Linked DNA regions of Homo sapiens: all the other regions are linked to region 1. The links are contacts of gene promoters, found by promoter capture Hi-C in blood cells and fetal thymus (Javierre and others, 2016). All regions are on one chromosome and are shown on one strand. Each heading gives the region's core, a stretch centred on a gene start or on the middle of the fragment in contact. The rest is flanking DNA. Distances are from core to core; before and after follow the strand shown.

Evidence for each region. The method cuts DNA at HindIII sites, captures the fragments that hold promoters and counts their contacts. A CHiCAGO score of 5 or more calls a contact.
Region 2: a contact is called between a fragment that was not itself captured here and the fragment with the promoter of ELOA in region 1, in 1 of 17 cell types (naive B cells). The highest score is 6.9, in naive B cells.
Region 3: a contact is called between a fragment that was not itself captured here and the fragment with the promoter of ELOA in region 1, in 1 of 17 cell types (total CD8 T cells). The highest score is 5.1, in total CD8 T cells.

Annotation. Positions count from the first base shown.
Region 1 is chr1:23,741,615-23,744,980 of GRCh38, forward strand. ELOA (elongin A) reads left to right here and starts at 1,857. Exons shown (of 11, transcript NM_003198.3): 1 at 1,857-1,964. The coding sequence starts at 1,890. RefSeq lists silencers at 1,659-1,888, 2,039-2,518. The HindIII fragment of the contact is 10,892 bases long and covers 1-3,366 here.
Region 2 is chr1:23,505,164-23,508,529 of GRCh38, forward strand. It overlaps E2F2 (E2F transcription factor 2), which reads right to left. Exons shown (of 7, transcript NM_004091.4): 7 at 1,275-3,366. Among named protein-coding and RNA genes, the nearest start is that of ASAP3, 23 kb to the left of the region's middle. The HindIII fragment of the contact is 177 bases long and covers 1,738-1,914 here.
Region 3 is chr1:23,899,759-23,903,124 of GRCh38, forward strand. The region is part of intron 1 of CNR2 (cannabinoid receptor 2); the gene reads right to left. It also overlaps the pseudogene BTBD6P1. Among named protein-coding and RNA genes, the nearest start is that of CNR2, 12 kb to the right of the region's middle. The HindIII fragment of the contact is 211 bases long and covers 1,375-1,585 here.

The sequences.
Region 1 (3,366 bases), core at 607-3,106:
GTAGAGGCTGGGTCTTACTACGTTACCCAGGCTGGTCTCAAACTCCTGGGCTCAAGCAGTCCTCCCGTCTTGACCCCCAAAGTGCTGGGATTACAGGCATGAGCCACTGTGCCCAACCTCATTGTTTCTTTTCATTTTGGTTATTGAGCTCTCTCTGGATAACATCTGCAGAATGTTTCATGTGTCCCGAGTATGTGCCAGGCCAATTACTCAGCAATTCTGCTTCAAGAATCAGTCTGTATTCCATTACACCAGTGGTACATTTTCAAAATGGAAGGAATATAAAATGTAAAAGTATTTGCTACGCAGAGGAGGGAGACACTACTGCTGGGACTAGAATCGAAGTTTTCTCACACCCAGTTCAATGCCTTTTCTACAACATCCCTCAGTTGAGCCTTAGGGTACCAAGTGGATGGTCATTAGTCTTGTATGGACTTTATATCCAATGCTGATTATAAGGTCTAGATGATGCTAGGTGGCAGAGATTCAAAGTTGGACAGGTCGGTTACTGTACTTGATAAATAAACAGCCCAGTGGCAAGACAGATAAATAAACTGACCATTTACACCCTGAAAAGGTGGTCAGTTGCTTAGGGAACTGGGGGAGGGGCGCCAAATGGAGGAGTAGGGACATGGTAGAGAGGGCTTTTCAGCATAGTGAGTGAATGAATGCTCATTTGAAGAAACAACTTGTGTTTAAGATGTTTTTCTTTCTTCCAGAGCTAGAATCTGGAAGAATCTCTGGGCTTTCCTGCTTTGAGGGAGAGATCAGGCTAGGTGCATTGCCAATTTGCTGCTGAAGATCTGATTAGGTTCTGCTTTGATGTGATCAAATGAGATGTAATCAGTGCTGGTACTTTAAGTGAGTTTGCAACTATTTAGTTGCTCTTTTTAGTAGTAGTATTAGTAATGGTAAAACTTAGTGCTTTTAGGATGAGAGTAGACGGCCTGAAGAATAATATCTTGGGCTCTTCTAATCAAGCCATACGGCTCATTGGCAAGTCATCAGAGGAAACATCTATCTATCTATACATTCATGCAATAAGTATTTATTTAGTGCCTATGTGCCAGACACTGTTTGTGGGGAAAACAAGACACATGGGCTATTATTGCCTCATGGAAGGAACTAAGCTGTTTGGATTTTGAAAAATCCCTTTCTCTGGGCCTCAATTCCTCGACCTGTTCAGAAATGTGCGCTCACAATGGTCCTAGACATCTTAGATTCAGGTTCCATTTTCAGTTCTTTCCTGTCCTGCGGCCATCTGCAAGTTAATTTGGTCTCCCTGAACCTCAGTTTCCTCATCTGTAAAATGAAGATCATACAACTCGTTTCATCAGGTTGTACTGAGGCTGGAAAAGATAGTCTAACTACTGACGCATCGTGTGCTCAGCCTAGGGTGGCTGCTACCGCGGGTGCCTGCGGACTCCTAGGACGGGCACCAGCCCGGGACCCCTGACAAGGTGTTGATTAGGGTGTGGCTAAGCCCCAGGCGGGAGAAAGCGTTGGCATTTATAAGGCCAGGGTCTGGCGCGGTGGCCTCATTCCGTCTTGAAGTAGACCCTGGAGAGGTCTTCCAGGCTTGGGCTCAGCACGCGAGCACAGGGAGCGGGGGTGCCGGCGGCGGAGGCGCGTACGGCCCGAGCAGCCCCCAGCCCCCAGCGCGCACACTTGGGCCAGGGGCGCGAGGAGTGCGCGGCCGCCGGGTGGGCGCTGGGGAGCGGGCCCTGGGGGCGGAGCCTGCAGCCCACCGCCCCCCACACACCCCAGCCGAGGCCCGGAAGGGGCCAGGCGCGCTTCCGTCTCCGCCGGGGATGCACGGAGGGCGGAGCTGCGGCCCGAGGACGCGACGCGAGCCCAGTTCCGGCGAGGAGGCCGCGCCAGTGACAGCGATGGCGGCGGAGTCGGCGCTCCAAGTTGTGGAGAAGCTGCAGGCGCGCCTGGCCGCGAACCCGGACCCTAAGAAGGTAAGCGAGGGGGCGGCGCGTAGCGGGATGGGCGTTGGGTCGGTGAGGGCCCCGTAACGGTCGCGGCCCGAGCGTGGCGGGGTTCGGGGGCTGGGACCCTGAGCCAGGCCCCGCGGGGCTGGGGTCGTGAAGTTCGCGGCCATTGACCGCTGCCCGCGCGTTGGGACCCCGTGCGTCGGGCGTCGGGACGCGGGGCCCCGGCCGCTCCCCCTCCCTCACGGGCCCGGGATGGGGGCGCGCCCGGTGCGGACACCGCGTGCCTAGCGCTTCCTCCCAGAGGCGCTCCGTGGCGTCCCGAGCCAGCTGTTTCCTGCGGGAGAGCGTGCCCGGGGCGGGAGGGCGCTGGCCGCCGCCTCGTTGGCCTCCCGGTGCCTGCGCTGGTGCCCGGCTCCCCGCGGAGCGGCGCGGACTCCCCAGCGGGTGCGTGTTCGCTGGGAGGAGAAGACGGGCGCCCGAACGCTGCGGAGCCTGGACTCGCGGTCTGGTCCGCGCCTCTCGGAGACGCGGTTACTACTCTCCGGCTGGATATCAGAGCGTGGACCTTTCGCTTTCTCAGTGAATCCCTTTCAAAACAGAATAAAGCCTCGCGTCACCTAAGCATACTCCTGAAAACTTAGGTTGGAATTGAAAAAGAGGCGGGGGCCCGGGGTTGGAAGTCGCAGCTAGGTTTCCTTTTGGCCATTAATAGGAAGGTAAGAGCTACCGTTTCTCGTTGTTCGAGTGATGGACAACCATTTTTAATTGTAGTTAACTAGTTTTTGTTGTTTATTGTACAAACTGAATATTAAGTTAAACGCGTTCTTGTACCTTTTCATCTTTCTGTCACTCACTTCTCTGGTCTCCAGGAGACAGTCTGGTGGTTGTCAGGATTTTTTTTTTTCTTTTTTTTTTTTGAGGCGAGTCTTGCTCTGGTCGCCCAGGCTGGAGTACAGTGGCGCGATCTCGGCTCACTGCAACCTCCGTCTCCCGGGTTCAGGCAATTGTCTGCCTCAGCCTCCCGAGTAGCTGGTATTGTAGGCGCCCGCCACCACGCCTGGCTAATTTTTGTATTTTTAGTAGAGACAGGGTTTCACCATCTTGGCCAGGCTGGTCTTGAACTCAGTTGTCAGGATTTTTTAAGTGGAAGTACAACGATGAAAAAGCACTTATGTGTTTGGCATTCTCCGTCATCATTCTGGCCGGGGCGGGCAGTTCTAGGAGTTGGAACTCAGTCCTGGTGGAAAAGGAAGTCGTGGAGGGAGGGCTAGGGCCGTGGGGGAACTGCTCTGCTGAGCCTCTTCCTCACCTGCTGCTTCCTAGGACTAACCTGAAAGGCTAAGGTACCAGGCTGAAAGTCAGTGCTCAGAAAACCAATCGTCATTCTTTGGGGTTTTTTTTCTTGAAGAGCCACTTTCTCTTTACC
Region 2 (3,366 bases), core at 576-3,075, 240 kb before region 1:
GGAAAGGGTGGCCAGGGAGGCCACAGGTAAGGTAGAGGAAGCCAGTTGGAAGTTGTAAATAGCCATTTATACCATGCAAAAGGGTTAGAACTTCATCCCGAGGGCAGAGAGGAGCCATGGATGGGCATTAAGCAGGAGAGTAACGCGATTAGAACTACATTTTAGAAAGATCTTTCTGGGGATCGCTTCTCAGCCTTTTGGCTAAGATCAAGTGTAGAAAGATCTCTCTGGGGCAGCAGAAGGCATGCATTCTCAAACTTCAGCTGCATTAGACTCACCTGGGAGGTTCATGGAGCCTCAGAATACTGAGTCCCGCCCCATGAGTTTCTTATTCAGCAGGTCTGAGGCAAGGTCTCTTTTTTTTTTTGAGACGGAGTCTCGCTCTGTTGCCCAGGCTGGAATGCAATGGCGCCATCTCGGCTCACTGCAACCTCTGCCTCCTGGGTTAAAGTGATTCTCCTGACTCAGCCTCCTGAGTAGCTGGAGTTACAGGCGCCTGCAACCATGCCCGCTAATTTATTTTATTTTTTTAGTAGAGACGGGGTTTCACTGTGTTAGCCAGGATGATCTCAATCTCCTGACCTTGCGATCCGCCCGCCTTGGACTCTCGAAGTGTTGGGATTACAGGCGTGAGCCACTGCACCTGGCCTTTTTTTTTGCAGAGTCTCACTATGTAGCCCAGGCTGGAGTGCAGTGGTGTGATCTCACTGCATCCTCTGCCTCCTGGGTTCAAGCGATTCTCCTGCCTCAGCCTCTTCAGTAGCTTGGATTACAGGCACCCGCCACCAAGCCCGGCTAATTTTTTTATATTTTTAGCAGAGATGGGGTTTCACCATGCTGGCCAGACTGGTCTTGAACTCCTAACTTCAAGTGATCCACCGCACCCAGCGTGAGGCATGGTCTTGAATATGCATGTCTCACATTTCCAGGTGATACTGCTGCTGCTGGTCTGAGGACTACAGTTGGACCCACTGATGTAGAGGGTGGGAGGGAGAGTGTGGGCAGCAAGACCTTTCAGGAAGCTGTGGAAATAGATGGGGGAGACAGAGTCAGGGCTGATCACATTTTAGATCTGGGTGCTGCGAACTTTTCAGTGCCTTAATGGTGAGATTGCAGGCATGGTGATAAGAGACTGTATCTTGGAGGGAAATCCACTGGGCAATCATGTGCCCCCAGCATTGGCCAGGACAGCCCCCAACACCCAGCCTGCGGGGACCAGATCCACAGTTGGTAATGAGCTTCAGAAAGCACGACAAAGACAAGATGCCCAGAGCTGCAGTTTAATGTTTAATGCCCAATTATCTCAATACAAGGAGGCTTACATGGTGCTCATAAAGACACGACCAGGCGAAACCAGGCCGGCAGGAAATGACCCGCATGAGTCCCAGCACGGGGACCATGTTCTCTCGGTTCCAGCTCACCCTCGAAAAGTGCCACAGGCAAGGTTCTTCAGCTCACCCAGGAGCCAGCAGGCTGGCCAGGCGTGTGGCCACCATGGTCACTGAGGATCCTCGTGGGAGAATAGGGTTCTGGGACCTCAGGATACAATCACAAGAACCAGAAAGCTGCTTCCAAACAACCCCAGAAGGTTTTCACTTCACATGCGCTAAGCCACACAACACCTGGATGCTGGGGCACCCAAACCCTTTCCCTAAAACTCTGAACACTGCAGAATGGAGGTTGAGAACACTTGGGGAGGGAGAACAAAGTCAGAACCATCCTAAAGCCAGTTTTTCAAGCTTGACCACCTCCCTCTTCCTCCCTGAAGGCACACCAGCCGATCCCATTACTGTGGAAAAGGGACACCCTCTGGTCTATTCTAACACCTTTAATGGGAAAGGAGTTAGGAGCATGTCCCTGGCTTCAAGAAATCTCTGAATCTCCAACTCTACTGGATGATTTCCTGGAGCCCCAAGCTTTAGAAGTCCCTGGGGACACGAGTGATTTTTTTAGGGGGGCTGCTGGTGGGGCTGGGAAGTTTCCTGGCAGAAATTATTTACCTCAGAAAGACACTGGCTTTTCTCTTACCCTCGTTTTAAAGTCTACCTGGTCCCTAAAGAAAATACCACTCAGGCTGGGCCTGGTGGCTCGTGCCTGTCATCTCAACACTTTGGGAGGCCGAGGTGGTGGATCACTTGAGGTCAGGAGTTCAAGACCAGCCTGACTAACATGGCAAAACCCCGTCTCGACCAAAAATACAAAATTAGCCGGGCGTGGTGGTGCATGTCTATAGTCCCAGCTACTCTGGAGGCTGAGGCAGAAGAATCGCTTGAACCTGGGAGGCAGAGGTTGCAGTGAGCCGAGATCAGGCCACTGCACTCCAGCCTGGGCAACAGAGCGAGACTCCATCTCAAAAAAAAAAAAAAAGAAGAAAAAAAGAAAAGAAAATACCACTCAAAATGTGTCCTGAAGCACTCTGTGGAAGTCGGGAGGCTTCAAGTGTCACTGGCAAGACGGGGGCATGAGCTTGTGTCCTGCACTGAATCTGAGGCTTAGCCTGGGAGGTCTAGCCCCTTGGCCAGGCAAGGTGTGAAAGGGACAGTAGAGGGGGACAGAGGCAGCTGCTGAGCACACGGGGCACAAGCCTGAAGGCAGCTCCCCTGACCAGCCATATGGAGAGGCCTCTAGGGCATGAGCTTACATTCCAGACTTCAGTATTAAACTCATTCCCAATGGGTCCTGCAGGCCCCTTCTTCCTTTTCTCTGATGTAATTCTTGGGGAAAGCTCCAGAGCCCAAGGAATGGGAGTCAAACACCTCTGACTTCAGAGATGGCACATGGCTAAATGGCAGCCCAGTGGAGACCTCAGAGCAGCCCACTCACCACAAACGAGATCCTACACAGGGTCCCTGAGCATGCTGGACTTTAAGACGGGCGTCTGATAAGACCCTTGTGAGTATTTGGGTAGGAGACCAAAAGCATTTCTGCAAAGGGTACACAATTAGCCCTGCTTATAGAGTGGGGGCAGCTGTGACCCGCTGACCACTCCTGGGAGGGGGCTAACTTGGGGGCCCAGGAATTTGAGCAAATGATGAGGCACAATTGTCCCCAGCTGGGCATTAGATCACATTGGGCCCCACCCTGAAATAATCCCTCGTCTCAAACTTCAGACATCAGTCAGTCAGCTCAGGAGCCATCCAACAAAACCAACTTCATATTTTAAACCAGCTTAATGCTACAAACTTTTCTAAAAAGTGCTGTCCAGCTGAGCCTCTGAGAAAACCTAGCTCCCTGAGGGGTGGATGGCAGGCCTCTCAGACCAACCCCTGAGCCTCTCTCCAGAAGTCATAGCCTTGGTTCAGCCCAGAGCACCCACATCCCAGGGTGGGTGGGGGAGAAGAGCAGCTGAGCTGAAGGGACAATGTG
Region 3 (3,366 bases), core at 230-2,729, 160 kb after region 1:
AGCTGAGATTGCGTCACTGCACTCCAGCCTGGGCGACAGAGGGGTCTCTGTCAGAAAGAAAGAAAGAAAAGAAAAAAAAGAAAGAAAAGAAAGAAAGAGGGAAGGAAGGAAAGAGAGAGAGAGAAAGAAAGAAAGAGAAAGAAAGAAAGAGAAAGAAAGAAAGAGAAAGAAAGAGAAAGAAAGGAAAGAGAAAGAAAGGAAAGAAAGAAAGAAAGGAAAGAAAGAAAGAAAAGAAAGAAAGAAAGGAAGGAAGGTTTAGGAGTCATGCAGCTGGAGGCTACAAGATTCTGACCCTCCCTAAACTGCTCCTGCGATCAGTGCTTGAGATACTTTGCAGACCCTGCACTTGATGGATCAGCTGGCACCACCCAAATCCATAAACTGGCTCATGTGATCTTGTGGCCCCCACCCAGGAACTGACTCAGCGCAAGAGGACAGCTTCGACCCCCTGTGATTTCATCCCTGGCCAATCAGCACTCCTGGCTCACTGGCTCCCCGCAACCAAACAAACTGTCCTTAAAAACTCTGATCCTTGAATGCTGGTGGAGACTGATTTGAGTAATAATAAAATTCCGGTCTCCCGCACAGCCAGCTCTGCATAAATTACTCTTTCTCTATTGCAATTCTCCTGTCTTGATGAATCGGCTCTGTCTAGGCGGCAGGCAAGGTGAACCCCTAGAGGCTTATAGACGGAGGGGCATGGGGTCTCTCTTATACTTCTGGGCAACCATCTCTTCCCTGATCTCTTTTTTTTTTTTTTTTTTTTTGAGACAGTTTCACTCTTGTTGCCCAGGCTAGGGTGCAATGGTGCAATCTCGGCTCACTGAAACCTCCGCCTCCCAGGTTCAAGCAATTCTCTTGCCTCAGCCTCCCAAGTAGCTGGGATTACAGGCATGTGCCACCACGCCTGGCCAAGTTTGTATTTTTAGTAGAAATGGGGTTTCTCCATGTTGATCAGGCTGGTCTTGAACTCCCAACCTCAGGTGAACCGCCCGCCTTGGCCTCCCAAAGTGCTGAGATTACAGGCATGTGCCACCGTGCCTGGCCTCCCTAATCTCATTTTTATCCTTCCCACCTTGGACCATTTTACCGAGCCACGTTTCCAGCTACCAACCAAATTGTCCTTAAAATCTCTGATCCTCGAATGCTGGGGGAGACTGATTTGAGTAATAGGACACTAGAATGGTCGCTCCAAGGGAGTTAAGGCTTATTATTTGTTTTGTTCACTCCCGTATCTTAAGTGCACCTGCCTCACCCATGGTCACTGCTCAGTAACTCTTTCTTTTTTTAATTGTAGGCAACCTTTATTACAGAAGTCCCTTATTTTAAGTGACTTTTTGCCGATTTTAGATTTGAAGGGAAGGTCTACAGTTAAGCTTGGAACCACTTAGTATCCAAGAGGGTGGCAGGAACATGCAACCCCTCAAAGCAGGTGGCATGGGTGCCATTGGGAGGGGATCTGGGGCCTGTCTTGTGCCCTAAATCTTCCTCCACCTGAGACGTGCACCCCAGTGTACCAGAGATGCCTAAGACTCCAATCCCCCAGCTCTGGCTGTGTGGAAAAGGTGCCTACTTCACAGAATCAAGCTTCAGTTGACTACATGCCAAAGAGAGACAAGGTTAAGTGTGGCCTTTCATGGTGTCAAGAAGCAGTTAGTGTCCTGATTTCCCCTCCATCCACTCGCCGACCTGCTGCAGCCTCCCCGGGCACCTCAGGCATAGAAGATGAGCTCAGGGATCTGCCCACCCTGGACCCCAGTCCCGTTGGTGCTGTCCGAGGAGCACTGGAACTGGAAGGCCACCTTTCTGCACTGCACTTGCGTCATCCCCTCCTGCCCAAAGTAGCTGAGGTTGCTGCCGTCCAGAACAGCACTGGCCATGTAGAAGGTGTCTTGTTCAACCTGGACCGGGTGTTCAAACCAGACCGGGAAGGTGTTACTGGATCTGTCCGACATGAATTTGGTCAGATTCTGAGCCAGAACTACCCCAAGCCTCTTGAGCTCAATCTTCACGCTGTACTCAGCCTTCCCAGAGCTGGACCCACACAGGCCTAGCCCCGCAATAAATACCCTTCTGTCCACTGCAAACTGGATGCTGTCGCAGCGCCCGCAGTACTGGCATTGGTTGCTGCGGTAGGCAGAAGACTGGAATAGGTGGCACCTCTGCGGGGTGAGGCCCTTCCTCTTGATCAGGGGGAAGTCCAGGCGGGGCTTGTTGGTGGCCGTGTACCACAGGAAGATGGTGTGGGTCTCCTCCAGAGTCAGGATGTCTGGATGTCTGACTGGGCAGCGCCGTTGGCAAACTCCTCTAGGGTCATGGTTGGAATTCGGATCAGATAGAGGGCTCGCCCCAAAACATGCCTCTTGTTTCGTGGGGTGACTGGCAGCCCCTGCCTCTTGCACTCTGCCTTGGCCCAGTTCAGGACGGCCTTGAAGACCACCGCCTCCTGGTGTTGAGGGCCTCCCGAGTGACAATGATCTCCAACGTCTGCCGGTCCATCTCACAGAAGCCTTGGGACCGCAGGGCCATCTCGGCCTGTGCGTCGATGACCTCCCAGCAGCGCTGGGTCAGGTCGGGCTCCTCAAACAGCCGGCTCTGGGACAGCAGGACGCAGGCGTTCTTGGCTTTCAGACTTGTCCCCAGAAAGTTGACGCAGGCTTTTGCCAATGCTGGGACGATGTACTTCTTAGCAGCCTACAGAGTGGCCAGCACCGTATCCGCTTCCAGATCGATCTCATCACTGTACACGTACTTTAATAGGATCAGAAAGGCTGCGGGCTCCACGTCTGGAATGTGAATTTCAGATTTGACTTCCGCCAGGTCCCAGTAGAACATGGCATAGAAGACGGAGCTGCAGACAGCCAGGACGTACTTGTGGGCGGGCACCGTCCTGGTCGCCCCCGGGGGTCCCACGACAAAGTGCACGTCGGCCACGAGCTCGTTGTTGAACATGAGCGCGTTCCTCTCGCGCAGCGTGGGGGACCGCGCCATTTGGGGCTCTCCGGGTGGTTGTTGCCAAGTGTGGGCTGCGCGGGCGCGGGCGCGGGGGCGCGGTGCAGGCTGCGCTGCCCGGCCTTCCTGCCCACGGCGGCGCCGGCGTTGCTGTGGGCTAGGACCGCGGCCGCGGCGCTGGCGGGGACGTAGAGCTCCGCCGCCATCCTCGAGGGCGGGGCGTCGGGGGCAGCCTCGGAGCCTGTGGACCCCCGCCCCGCGCCCTCGCGCCGCGCCGGGGCCTCGGGAGCGGCTCTGCAAGCAAAAGCAGGGAGGTCGGGCGCTGAGCGACGCGGCGGTGATGGCAGGCCAGGGGCAGCACCATTCATGGGCGGCGGCGGCGGCGGCGCTGCGACCCGCGGGGCTGCCACCCGT